3 separate regions of the Homo sapiens genome follow, and regions 1 and 2 are each linked to region 3. The links are contacts of gene promoters, found by promoter capture Hi-C in blood cells and fetal thymus (Javierre and others, 2016). All regions are on one chromosome and are shown on one strand. Each heading gives the region's core, a stretch centred on a gene start or on the middle of the fragment in contact. The rest is flanking DNA. Distances are from core to core; before and after follow the strand shown. Region 1 overlaps DECR1 (2,4-dienoyl-CoA reductase 1). Region 2 overlaps TMEM64 (transmembrane protein 64). Region 3 holds the start of WWP1 (WW domain containing E3 ubiquitin protein ligase 1).

The links. Contacts are between HindIII fragments. The CHiCAGO score rates a contact against its expected background, and 5 or more counts as called.
Region 1: a contact is called between a fragment that was not itself captured here and the fragment with the promoter of WWP1 in region 3, in 1 of 17 cell types (non-activated CD4 T cells). The highest score is 7.2, in non-activated CD4 T cells.
Region 2: a fragment that was not itself captured here is called in contact with the fragment with the promoter of WWP1 in region 3 in 1 of 17 cell types (naive CD8 T cells); the score reaches 6.4 in naive CD8 T cells.

Annotation. Positions count from the first base shown.
Region 1 is chr8:90,006,005-90,008,878 of GRCh38, forward strand. The region is part of intron 1 of DECR1 (2,4-dienoyl-CoA reductase 1); the gene reads left to right. Among named protein-coding and RNA genes, the nearest start is that of DECR1, 6.0 kb to the left of the region's middle. RefSeq lists an enhancer at 82-141. The HindIII fragment of the contact is 5,232 bases long and covers 1-2,874 here.
Region 2 is chr8:90,641,620-90,645,988 of GRCh38, forward strand. It overlaps TMEM64 (transmembrane protein 64), which reads right to left. Exons shown (of 3, transcript NM_001008495.4): 1 at 3,492-4,369. The coding sequence starts at 4,286. Among named protein-coding and RNA genes, the nearest start is that of TMEM64, 2.3 kb to the right of the region's middle. RefSeq lists an enhancer at 3,491-3,820 and a silencer at 3,931-4,330. The HindIII fragment of the contact is 2,145 bases long and covers 989-3,133 here.
Region 3 is chr8:86,339,216-86,343,800 of GRCh38, forward strand. It overlaps WWP1 (WW domain containing E3 ubiquitin protein ligase 1), which reads left to right and starts at 3,332. Exons shown (of 25, transcript NM_007013.4): 1 at 3,332-3,715. It overlaps WWP1-AS1 (WWP1 antisense RNA 1), which reads right to left. Exons shown (of 6, transcript XR_007060994.1): 2 at 4,375-4,445; 3 at 3,867-4,061. RefSeq lists a silencer at 3,423-3,882. The HindIII fragment of the contact is 10,725 bases long and covers 1-4,585 here.

The DNA.
Region 1 (2,874 bases), core at 375-2,874, 3.7 Mb after region 3:
AATAGAGTGCAAACTCACTTGCCACTGCCAGGATGAAGATGGTACTACGACATTCATGATGGATCTGCCACCATAACCCAGGCACCTCCCATTAGACCCCACCTCCAACATTGGGGATCACATTTCAACATGAGTTTTCAAGGGACAAACATCCAAACATCCTTAGCAGGTTGACTAAGGGGACAGAAAGAAGCCTGGAGTTGTACTACCTGAACTTCTCACAGTAGGGAGATGTCAGGACTGGGGAAGAAGCATCTCCTGCTCATGGGGGAGGTATGTCCAGTTTTATGAGAGTGTTGTTGTTTGGTATATATCAAAGCTGAGACCTGAAAGATGAGTAGGAGTTAGCCAAAGGGAGAGATGTAAGAATGTTTTAAACAGGAGAGTAGTCTATGTGAAGGCCCAGCATAAAGGTTATCAACAGAGAGTGGGGAGGCAGGAGGTGAGAGACAGCTTAGTGAGCAGCCTGTTGGCTGCGTTAAAGAGTTAGAACTTTGTCCTGCAGGGTGGGAGTGGAGACAAATGGCTAAACCCTGAGTAATCCTCTCATCTGTTGAGAGGTGATGGTGGCCTCAACGAGGGCATGCATTGGGTTTGGAGACACTCAAAGTTGAGTGATATTTAGGAGGTAAAATCAGAGGCCTTGGTGATTGGTTGGTGGTGAGGATGAGAGATGGGGCTATGCTCAGTGGTGACATGTTGCCATCAAAATTGTGAGCAGAAATACGATATCATCAGGTAAGACTGGAAGTAGGGAGACCAAACATCCAAACACCAGTGATGAGGGTCTGAACTGAGGATAGCATTAGAGCTACTGGGGACTAAAACGAACTGGGCTTGGTTTGAATGTATGGGGTAAGATGAAGCCCAGATTTCTGTCTTTGGCCCCTGAGCTAAGGACAGTGCCACTCTCTTGAGTGAGGACATTAAGTGGGGGCTGGAGGGAGAAGAGGAGTAAGTGACATCAGTCCTGAAATGTCAGTAGGGTCTGGGACTCCTCAAGTGGTATATAGATAAATAAGCTACAGAAGTAGAGGAGAGAATGTTAATTCTCCCTGGGAGTGTTAGGGAAAGCACCAGAGCTCTCACAGCTGGGTTTCAATGATGAATGTTGGGTGATGATAGGGAGCAATTTGTGTAAAGACAGGAAAGTAGGAAAGAGTTCATGTTTGGGGAATCCTGAGTACTTTGTTTTCCTGAGTGTAAATTTCAGGGGAGATGAGGCAGAAGAGAGGGACAGGAGCTAGGTCGTGAAGACATATGCTATGGGGAGCGAAGGAATCTGGATATTCTGCAGCTACCAGGAGCCCTTAGAAGATCTTAAGAAGAGAAGTAACATGATCCCATTAGCAGTCCTCGGAAGATCAGTTAAAAGATGACACAGAATAGGCCCCCAATGTTTGTGAATGTTGTGAGATAGGGGTTTGAAATCAGGTGGTGGATATAGAGGGACACTGGGGAGGTAAAAGGCATGGGGCTTATAGACGGATGGGATGTATCAGGTGAAGAGGAGAGGGAGTCACCAAGGTGGGGCAGGGCAGGGCAGGTGGTGGGGGTGGGGTTAATGGATGAATCTTGGCCTTGTAGCTTAAGGATGCATTTGAAGAAATTTCAAACAAACTTCCTGCCCAAACTACAAAGCAAACTTTATATTATTACAAAAAATAATCTAGATCTCAGATATCTCCCAAAGGTCATGATAATGACATCAAAAGAGGGGGGAATTTTAAAGTTATCCAGAGTTTCTTACAGCCCATGGTAGAAAGCATGCAATAGATGTTTAGCAACTTTTAGTTTTTGCAGAAAATTCTAGGTAGAAAATGATCAGCATTCTCAGCTGTCCTGCGCTCTTCTCTTCCTAAGTTGATGAATCATTCTGAGATTGAAGTGCCAGGGTAATGATAAGTAAGTCTAGAATACAAGGTCAACTGCACTTTTATCCCTTCCAGTCTGGGAAACCCTCACACTGCATTGTAACATAAAAGCAGTGATAGAACTGTAGGCTTTCATAATTGCTGGAATGATGAAATGATGTTGCCATTTACCTTTAGCCCTAATTTATTCTTCATGCTTCAAAACCATATTTCCTACTGCAGCTTAGATATCTCTACCTGACTATTCCAGAAGCATCCCAAGTGCAGCATTTCTGATGCAGAACTCATTATCCTCAATGCTCCAACTTGGTCTTCTCATGTCAACCCAGTCATTTCAGTCAGAGCATCACTCTGCATGCAGCCACTTAAAACTAGAACTCAGTTACCTTCCACAGCTCTCACCTTACTTGCCAGGTCTGGCTGGTTGGGTTCTGGGTTCAGGCTAATTTACATGTTAAATGTGTGTGGAATATGTTGTCTTCTCTTAATTTCTACTGCCCTCGGTATCTCTCATGTACACTTAATGACTTCTGTCTGATGAGTCTCCATTTCCTTTTTTCTGGCTCACATTTAAATCTTAATTTTTCTAGAACACAAAGGCAGTGCAGATGTAACAGGGATATTGAGGTAAAGATGAGAGAGGTAGAAAAATCTCTCTCAGTTCTTTTCAGTAAACAGGAGACCTGTTTATATGCTGTTAATGAAACAGGCAAAAATGTGATGAAATAGATCAAGAACAAAAGTCCAAGCTCATGTTGTTGGGCAAGAGGCAAGAAGAAATCATGGATCTAGTGGATATCTTAAATATCCTGACTTGATCATTACACATTCTATGCATGGAATAAAATATCACATGTACCCCATAAATAGGTTAAAATGTTATGTATTAATAAAACATTAAGAAAAAGAAGAAATAATTGGACCAGGCGATATTAGGTACAGTGGTGACTCATTACGTCCTCATTTTTTGGGACCTTTGCTCTTGCAAGTAGTTTTATTT
Region 2 (4,369 bases), core at 811-3,310, 4.3 Mb after region 3:
ACTCTAAACATTTACTAACTGTGTAATCTTGAGCAAGTTATTTCACCACTGTGCCTCAACTGCTTCAGCTATAAGATGAGGATCAGGGCTGAAATGAACAGTAAATAAGTTATGTGTGCATGATTAAACAGTGCCCAGGAATTAGTTAAGTACAATGTAGGTATTTGTTAAATTTTTTTAAAAAGTAGCTCAACTTCACTGTCCTTATTTTGGAAGGCAGAGGATGGTGAGAAAGAAATAGTAAATAATGAGCAAACTATATATTTTATCACAGCTTTGCAGCAGGTATTATTAAACACATCCCACAACAGAAAGTATAGCTCAAAAGAGTAACTATAACTACTTCAAGATGACACTGTAAATGTTGGAACCAATCTCATTTCAAGTTTCTACCATGCATGGGAGAAGGGGAAAAAATGGTTCAGAGGAGATAAGCAAGGGAAAGCACCTTTCCTTCTTCCATATATTATCCTTTACAATCAGCTCCTGCTTCTAAAATGTGAATACAACTACCTCCACCACTACAAACAATAATGACACTTAACAATTACTGGGAAGTGACTATGAGCCAGACAAAATACTTAATGCCTTCACTGTATCAGCTTTTTTAAGCCTCATAACTACTTTATTTTACAGATGAGGAAATGGAGAAGGCCAGATGGCACAGACTAATTCAGGATCATCTATTTCCAAAGCCTGGGCCTCACATGACCACTACACCTAACTTCTTTGAGGTACGCCCAGATGAATTTCTCTAATTATGGGCACACAAAAAAAATGAGTTTTAACTGGAATTTTTTTCTTTAAAAAAAAAAGGATGATTTCAAAGATAGGGAGGGATGTGGAAAACACAAGAAATATGCCTAGAAAAGGGGGCAGCTATGGTCAGCAGGAGGGGTATGAGGTGGAGAGGATACATGAGGAGGCAGAATGGAGTTCTAGAAGGCAGAAAGTCAAGTCAGACTAAAACCAACATCAGCCTTAACTAAGCTTTCTTTTCTTTCACATATCTTGGCTGAATTCAGTAAACTGTTTTTGTTGAAAGGACTACTTCTGTAAGCAGGCAGTTCAGAACAATAGGTATAAACAGGACATAACAGACCATATCCAGGGGCTTCACAGTCCACCCTGCTATGGCTGAGTCAAAATTTTACAGTAAGATGCACCATATCAGCTGATCCTGGGTTCAAACCCTAGCTCAGCCACTTGGTAGGTGGGTGACTGAAGAAGTTCCTGGATGGTTGAGCCTCTGTTTCTTCTCAGTGAAATGGTGACAATAATACCTATTGCAAGAGGCCATTTTTCTTTTTTTTCCCTTCTTTTTTATTGACCACACAATGCTAAATTGAGATTTGTCCCTTGTCAAGCTCAGTTTCAACTACATGATTACCTTAAATTATTACCAAGCACAAAATACAACCTCTTAGTTATATACTTAATATGTAAGAGACAAAATCAAAAGAAAAGCCTACCTTATTGTCAGTCGATAAATACATAATGAGCCCTTACTATTTACCCATGACTACACCAGGCATTAAATATATATTCAAGAAATAAAGAGGTGGTTGGTTGAGACACTGCCATCAGACCATGGTTCAAAGTTTGACTCTACCATTAATTTAGTACCTTGGTGACCTTGGGTCATAACAACAGAAACGACAAAAGCCAACACGTGTTTGTTAAGCCAGGCTCTGCTGCATGTATTCATCTCATGTAATCTTCTCAATAATCCTATGGAAGTAGGTATCATTACTTTCCTCATTTTACAAATAAGAAACTGAAGCCCAGAGAGAATAAACAACTTGCCCAAGGTCACTAGATTCTAAGCAGACAGCAGGATTTCACAACACCAGCCCTGTGCTCCCAACTAGTAGACACTAGTCTATAATATGTGCATAATTAACTTCTGCAGGGCTGGTTTAAGGATCAGAAATATGTGGAAAGAGCCGAGGACAGTAGTTGGCACACGGTAGATGGACAAGAAAAGGCCCAAGGATACATGCTATATTGAAACACAAACTAACAGAATCAATCTATTTAGGTTCCTTAGCCCAACCTTCTTTCAAAGTCCTGGGACAGTTTATTTATTATTACCCAAGACTGGGTCAAAGTTCAAGTTTATATTTCATACTATAGGAGGGTATGAAAAAGAAATTTAAGACTAAGACTATACCAAACTACTGCTAACACTAAACTTTATCTCTACAGAAAACCCCTTATCTGTTTCCACTGCCTCTACCAAATACCATTCCATAGTCATTGCTGCTGTTGCTTGGAATCAAGAGGTTTGCAAAAGGCATTTAAAAGAAAAGAAAAAAGAGAAAGGTTTTAATTTCATCACAAAGAGGCAGATTGGTTAGTATTATTCCTAATTCAAAACAAAATGAGAAAGTTTCCAGAAACTAACAATAATTTACGTTTTGAAACAAAATAATGCATCAGAATCACTTAAAATACATCAATTCCTATGGTTTTGAATGCAATTATCTCTTTATTTCAGTAAGTTTTCTTTAAGTCTAGCTGAAGGGTTAAGTTCCTGGGAATCTACATAAACTCTTGGTAGTTTAGAATCACTGAATTTGGGGAACATGGTAATCTACTTTTTTAAGTCCTTCACTTTCGAAAAGAGAAAAGTGAAGCCAGACAGGGTCAGTAACTTGATCCAAAGTCACAAAGTTTGTAAAGACCAGATTCCTTTCTTCCAATAAGATGATCTCTTCACTAGCAGTGTTTCTATCCTAAATCAGTTGCATGGAGATGCACACTAGCTATAGAAACCTGAGTAAGCAAAACATATGAATACAAGGACAGAAAAGAGTCTATAATGGTGCAGATACAGAAGAAAAATATATGCTAACTGAGCAAAAGATTATCTGTTCTGTTTTATTCACCACCCCGTGATTTCGAAATGAAGTTCCTCCAAAGAAAGAAAGATAAACAGTAGGATTTTCTTCTTTACATCACATTAAAGCACAATTACTTGAAGAAGAAAAAGCCCATTTCAAATTTAGCAAACTCCAAAATCTGGAGTCTGCAACTAGCTCCTCCACTGTTTACTGAAACACTTCCTTTGGTCCATGTCGCTAAAAACTTGAATCAAAACCCTGGATGTATTTATGTAAGCAAGAGAGAAAGCTTTCCTCCCTAAATGTTGCCAAAGCTGCTACAAAAGATGACAAGTATTAAAGATGGGCATTTCCATTCATGTCCCTGCATGCCTATTGTTAAGAGGGCTTTTCATTTTTAATTACATTCCCATCCCTAAAAGAAACATTAGTTTTTTATCTAACAAACTCTCTTTCGAGGCTCCGCGTTAGGTATGTTTTATGTGTAGGACAGACTTCCCAGGCTGCGATGGAAAGTAATCGTAACTCCTGCCGTCAATGTCACTTCTCTGCTGGTATTTATCTGATAGAGCGCCCTCCTAGGGCCGCCACAAGACCGCTCAAAAACAGACTTGGAGAGGGATAGGCCAGCGGGACCCCACTTACCGAAAACACTGCATTCTGAAGCCCAAAAGGTATGGGTGTCAGTCTGGCCAGCGCCACCACTTTCAGGCCGCTTCCTCCCTCCACTACGCGAATAACCGCGCTCAGCTTCTCGCTGCTCTGGATCCTGGCGGCCACCCAGGCGGTGAGGAGCCGCTTGCAGACCACATGGGCGATGAAGGTGCCGATGAGGACGCCCACCATCATCAGACCCATGCCCAGCACGAAGCCGTACAGGTAGCCAGCGGCCACGTTGAGCACGATGTAGCCCCAGCCGCAGGGGAAAGAGACCACGATGAAGCCCACGACGAAGAGCAGGACCCCCAGCAGCGAGTCAAGGCTCTCCACCCACAGCAGGAGGTGGTGAAGGTAGCGGCGGACCAGGGCCAGGGAAGCGAAGCACAGGGCGGCCAACACGCAGACCAGCACGAGGCTCCGGCACCAACAGGTGCTGCCGAGGCAGCAGCAGCGCCAGTTTCTCACCTCAGCCACGCCGACCACCACGCCGCCGCCGCCACTCCCGGGGCCGCCCGCCAAGGCCCCGCCCGGCTCCGGCAGCTCCGAAGCCTCGGGCGGACCGTGGCGCTCCAGATAGGCGCCGAGCAGGGCGCCCGAGGCCGCCGCTGCTGCCGCCGCCGCGCTCGCCCCGCCCCCGCGGGGAAGGCGGTCCGCCGGGCCGTCCCCGCCCGCACCCCGCGGCAGGGCCCAGCGGGCCGGCAGCTCGGCGAGGCCCGGGAGGGCGGCGTGCTGCAGCAGCCGGGGCAGCGCCTGGAGCAGGATCCCGCCCGGGCTCCGCATGCCTCGGCCCAGCGCGGGCCCTCAGCCGGCCAGCCCCTCCGCCGCGGCGCCCGTTAGGCAGCTGCCCTTCATGGCGCCCGGTT
Region 3 (4,585 bases), core at 2,082-4,581:
TGGTGGCAGCAAGGAGAAGTGCTGAGCAAAAGGGGGAAAAGCCCCTTATAAAACCATCAGATCTTGTGAGAACTCACTCACTATCACCAGAACAGCATGAGAGTAACCGCCCCCATGATTAAATTACCTGACACTGGGTCCCTCCCACAACACGTGGATATTATGGGAACTACAATTCAAGACGAGATTAGGGTTAGGGATGGTGGCTCATGCCTGTAATCACAGCACTTTGGGAGGTCGAGGCAGGAGGGTCACTTGAGATCAGGAGTTCAAGATCAGCCTGGCCAACATGGTGAAACCCCGTCTCTACTAAAAATTAAAAAAAAAATTAGCTAGGTGTGGTAGCATGTGCCTGTAATCCCAACTACTCGGGAGGCTGAGGCAAGAGAATCACTTGAACCCAGGAGTGGAGGTTGCAGTGAGCCAAGATCACACCACTGCACTCCAGCCTGGATGACAGAGCAATACTCCATCTCAAAAAAAAAAAAAAAAAGATGAGATTTGCGTGGGGACACAGCCAAACCATATCACAGGGTTTGTCATGTTGGTCAGGCCGGTATCAAACACCTGGCCTTAAGTGATCCACCTGCTTTGGGCTCTCAAAGTGTTGGGATTACAGGTGTGAGCCACAGTGCCCGGCCTGTAGACCTATTTTAAAACCACTACAGTTAGAGAACAATTTTTTAAACAAATGGTTTGGGGGAATACCATGAGCTATTTTTAAAGGAATAAAAGTTAGATTATCATTGCAAAATAAATCCAAGAAAATTAAATTATTTAATGAAAAAAGTAAAATAGTCAAACAAGTAGAAAAAAGTAAAGACAGATGAATTATATGATCTCAGGATGGGAAAGATGTATGAAGTAAAAAACAATGGAAGAATACAAAAATGGAAAAGATCAATAGTTTTACAAAGGACTAATATCTACATTGTGTGAAGCACCCTTTTGTGAAATACCTCAGTAAGAAAATGGACAAAGGACAAACAATAAGCTACCATACATACACATATGAAAACATACCATGATGATTTGGGCACATGGAAGAAGGACAATCACATACTGTCATGTAGTGTTGTGGGAAAATTGATAACCATTATGACAATCATTTCTTGATTATGTGCCATGCTCATGTGTTAAGTAGCTCTATGCGTGTTATTTATAGCAATTTATATATATTTTTTAATACAACATGTGGAAGCACTATATTAATTTTCTAGTTGAGACACAATTAGATTAAGCAATTGGCCAAATCTCTCAGCTCATAGGCAGCAGGAGGGTCAGGTTATCCATTAGGCACAGTAGACACAGTGCCTCAGGCTTATAACACTTTCGGGGGCCCATAAAAATGTTTTAATTTCTTTTAAAATCAGAAGGCAAAAAATTGAATATTTAGGTCAAAGAAAATATTTTAATGTATAATGTTAATATCTTTTTCTTCATACCAATGCAGTAATAAAATATATTTTGTAGTATTATTTTATGGAAGATGAGGCCCACACAGGTATAAGCACCTAGGGCCTGTGAAAGTCAGAATGTGGCACTGGGTGGCAGAGCTGTGTTTTGATGCTGGGCGATGTGATACCTGAGCCTATGCTCTTTCTGGAAGGTAGTTGCCAATATGTTTCAAAAGGGCTAAACTTGTTCATACTTTTTTATTACTTTTAATAATTTATCTAAGACAGTTAATAAGGACATGAACAATGGTTATGGAATACTATTTATAATATTGTTCATTTGAAACCAAACAGTCAATAACAAAAGGCTGGTTCAATATTGGGTGTCAGCTTGAGGACTAGGTGAGTACTAAGAGCTTCTGAACGGGGAGGAAATTGAGCAATGAGGGGAGCTGAAAGTGAGACACAGAGCAGGAAGAGGAGGCCTGCATGCATTCTGGAGAAGGAGTCCAGATCCCTGCTGGGGAATACCTACGGAATTTCTGAGGACGTGTTTGTAAGCACATTATTGCATCTATTTAAAGGGACCAGACAGCAAAAGCAAAAAGATGAAGAAAATCTTAGTACATGTTTAAAGCAGAGATGAGTGGGCACATATGGGGCACTGTGAAGAGTTTTTCATAACAGGAGAGATAGAGCATGTGAGCATCAAAGGAACCTTGAATATCACGTTAATCTTTGTCAGGAGAGCTCCGAAAAGCCAAAGAATGATTTTAAGCAGTGGAATGACACAGATGTATATTTTCGAATGATCTTTGTGGATATAATGTGCACCAATTTCAACTATGAAGCCAGAGGACAAGAACTAATGCATGGAGGTAGGCGGGAATGTGCATTGTTCAGTCAAGAGATACTTGTTGAATTCTGTACACACTCATGAAGTGTTGGGGTTGTTTTTGGTACACAGTTCTTTCAAAAAGCTCAGTTAAAATGGAAGGGGAGAGAGAACCAGAGGTTTTAAAATCAAGGGAAAATTTAGGACCTAATCTTAAAACGTGATTATGCTGAGGAGTTGTAGGCAGTGGAGAGGGTGAAGTTAAAGATGTGCCAAGGACCGCCCACAGTGGGGAGCAGGCAGTGGAGAGGAGCAGGGACATCTAGCCTCCGAGATAGAAGGAAAACTAGTAAGTCTGGGTGTGGACGTAGATATAATCTATGGGGGTTGGTCAGGTGGTTGGGCAAAAGCTGTAGAAATCCATGCCTGAAGGCTTCTGCTTCTCTGAAGTAGAAACCGGGTCACCTGGTAAGCAATGTGGTCCCACTGACTTCTATTTGCACATTGGCCTTTCTTCTAAAAGCAATACACATAACCAACAGTACTTTTCTAAACTAGTTGACTTTTCTGTAAAATGCAGACAGTAGACACTACTTTGTCAGATTGTTGTGTGCGTTAATTGTGCGGACACGTATACTCGGTCAATAAGTATCTGCTTTATCACCGGGCTGATGTGAGTGAGGACTAGGTGGTGGGGCTTCCACAGATGAACGTTTTGATTAATAAAAAATGGACTGAAAGTCTTCGGGTATGACCAATGGCTAAATGCAATTATTTACTCTTGCAATGTGTTCGAGGTCACCCAGCTAGGTCAAGGAGTATTTATGGACAGCCTACTTTTGCCCCCGGACCTTAAGAAGTCCTGCTCCGGGATCAGCCGCCGACCGGAAAGTCAAATTAGCAGTGCCCAGCGCGAGCTTAGAGCAGCCTCTTCCCAAATCTCAGCGGCGGCCCCGCCCCTTCCACACGTTCAGGCCCCGCCCCTCCCTACTATTGGCTGTCCGTCCCCCTCCGCTAGACTGCTCGGAAGACCCGGAGGAGCGGAGTTTTCCTAAGGCAGCATCCGAGCGCCCTCGCTGCGCATGCTCGGGGGAGGCGGATTCCGGGTCCGGAGTTGGAGGCTTTGGGCGGCCGCGGCGTAGCGCGCGGTGCCGGGGCCGGCGGGGAGGCGCGCGCTTAGGGCGCGGCGCCGGCGACGCGGCCACGCGGCGCGCTCCCGAGGAAGGGAGGTGTGGGGTCGGCTGGGGGTGGCGCGTGGACGGGGTGGGGGTGGGGGGAGGGTCGGGTGTCGGCGAGCTCCGCGTGCGGGTTCCGAGTGGCTGCTGGCGGCCTGGGCTGCCGGGGCCGACGCCTGGGTGGCTGCTGCCGCCGCGCCTGCTGCGAGATGGCGATCTTGGGCGCGGAAGGGTGAGGGCGCCCGCCGCAGGAGGAGGTGCCGCTGCCGTGGCCGCCCGGCTGCCGGGAGCCGACAGCTTCGCGCCGGGTAAGGACGGCGCGGCGCGGGGCTGGGGGTGCGAATGGGCAGGGCGGGAGGGGGCACGGGCCCTGAGCCTTGGCCGCGGTGCTGGGCGCCCGGCGCCGTCCGCCCCCGGGCTGGACCCTCCTAGGACCCGTCGGGGGACGGTCCGCCCTACCTTGGCTACCTTCTCCAGCCCGGGAGTCGGGAGTTTTCTGGGGTGGGGTCACGGGTCTTGCCCGGAGTTCGCCCTGGCAAAGGCCTGTGCCAGTGATCCTGGAGCGGAGCGAAGTGTTTCCGTGACTCTGCAGCCGCAGTTCTTAGGCTTCCTTAGCCTTCTCTTCGCCTTCCTCCACCTTTCCCTAACACCTCCCTGAAAACACAAATACATGGACTCATTGCCCGTTCCCTGACTTTCACCCCAATTTCAGCGTTGCAAACCAAGGACTCCAGCTTTGGAACGTCTTTTTCTGACATGTTTTTATCACTCTCCGTTCTTCACCGACTCTGCAGCTCCCCATCCCCCGCCCCCCCAGCGCAACCCCCACCTCCACCTTTTGTGACCTGGTAGGTTCCAGTGACCTTGCAGATTTTACCAGTCCTTATCTTGTCTGTGACTTACAGACTCTCCTTTCATCTTCGTGTTCTTTTTTTAAAAAAATTTAATTTTGTAGTTTGCTCCTTACCTTTACGACCTTTAAATGATCAGTCTTGTTCACAGTCCTTTCTTTGCTCTGCCGATTTGGAGTTTTCTCTGCTGTGGTAAATATATGAAACCTTCATTACCAAAGAAGAGTAGTGTCTGTTATAATTTTGACATTTTTACTCTTTCAGAATAAAATATTTTCCAGGGGCTTGATTTTGCCTTCTTTTTCTATTTGATAAGTTTAACAAATT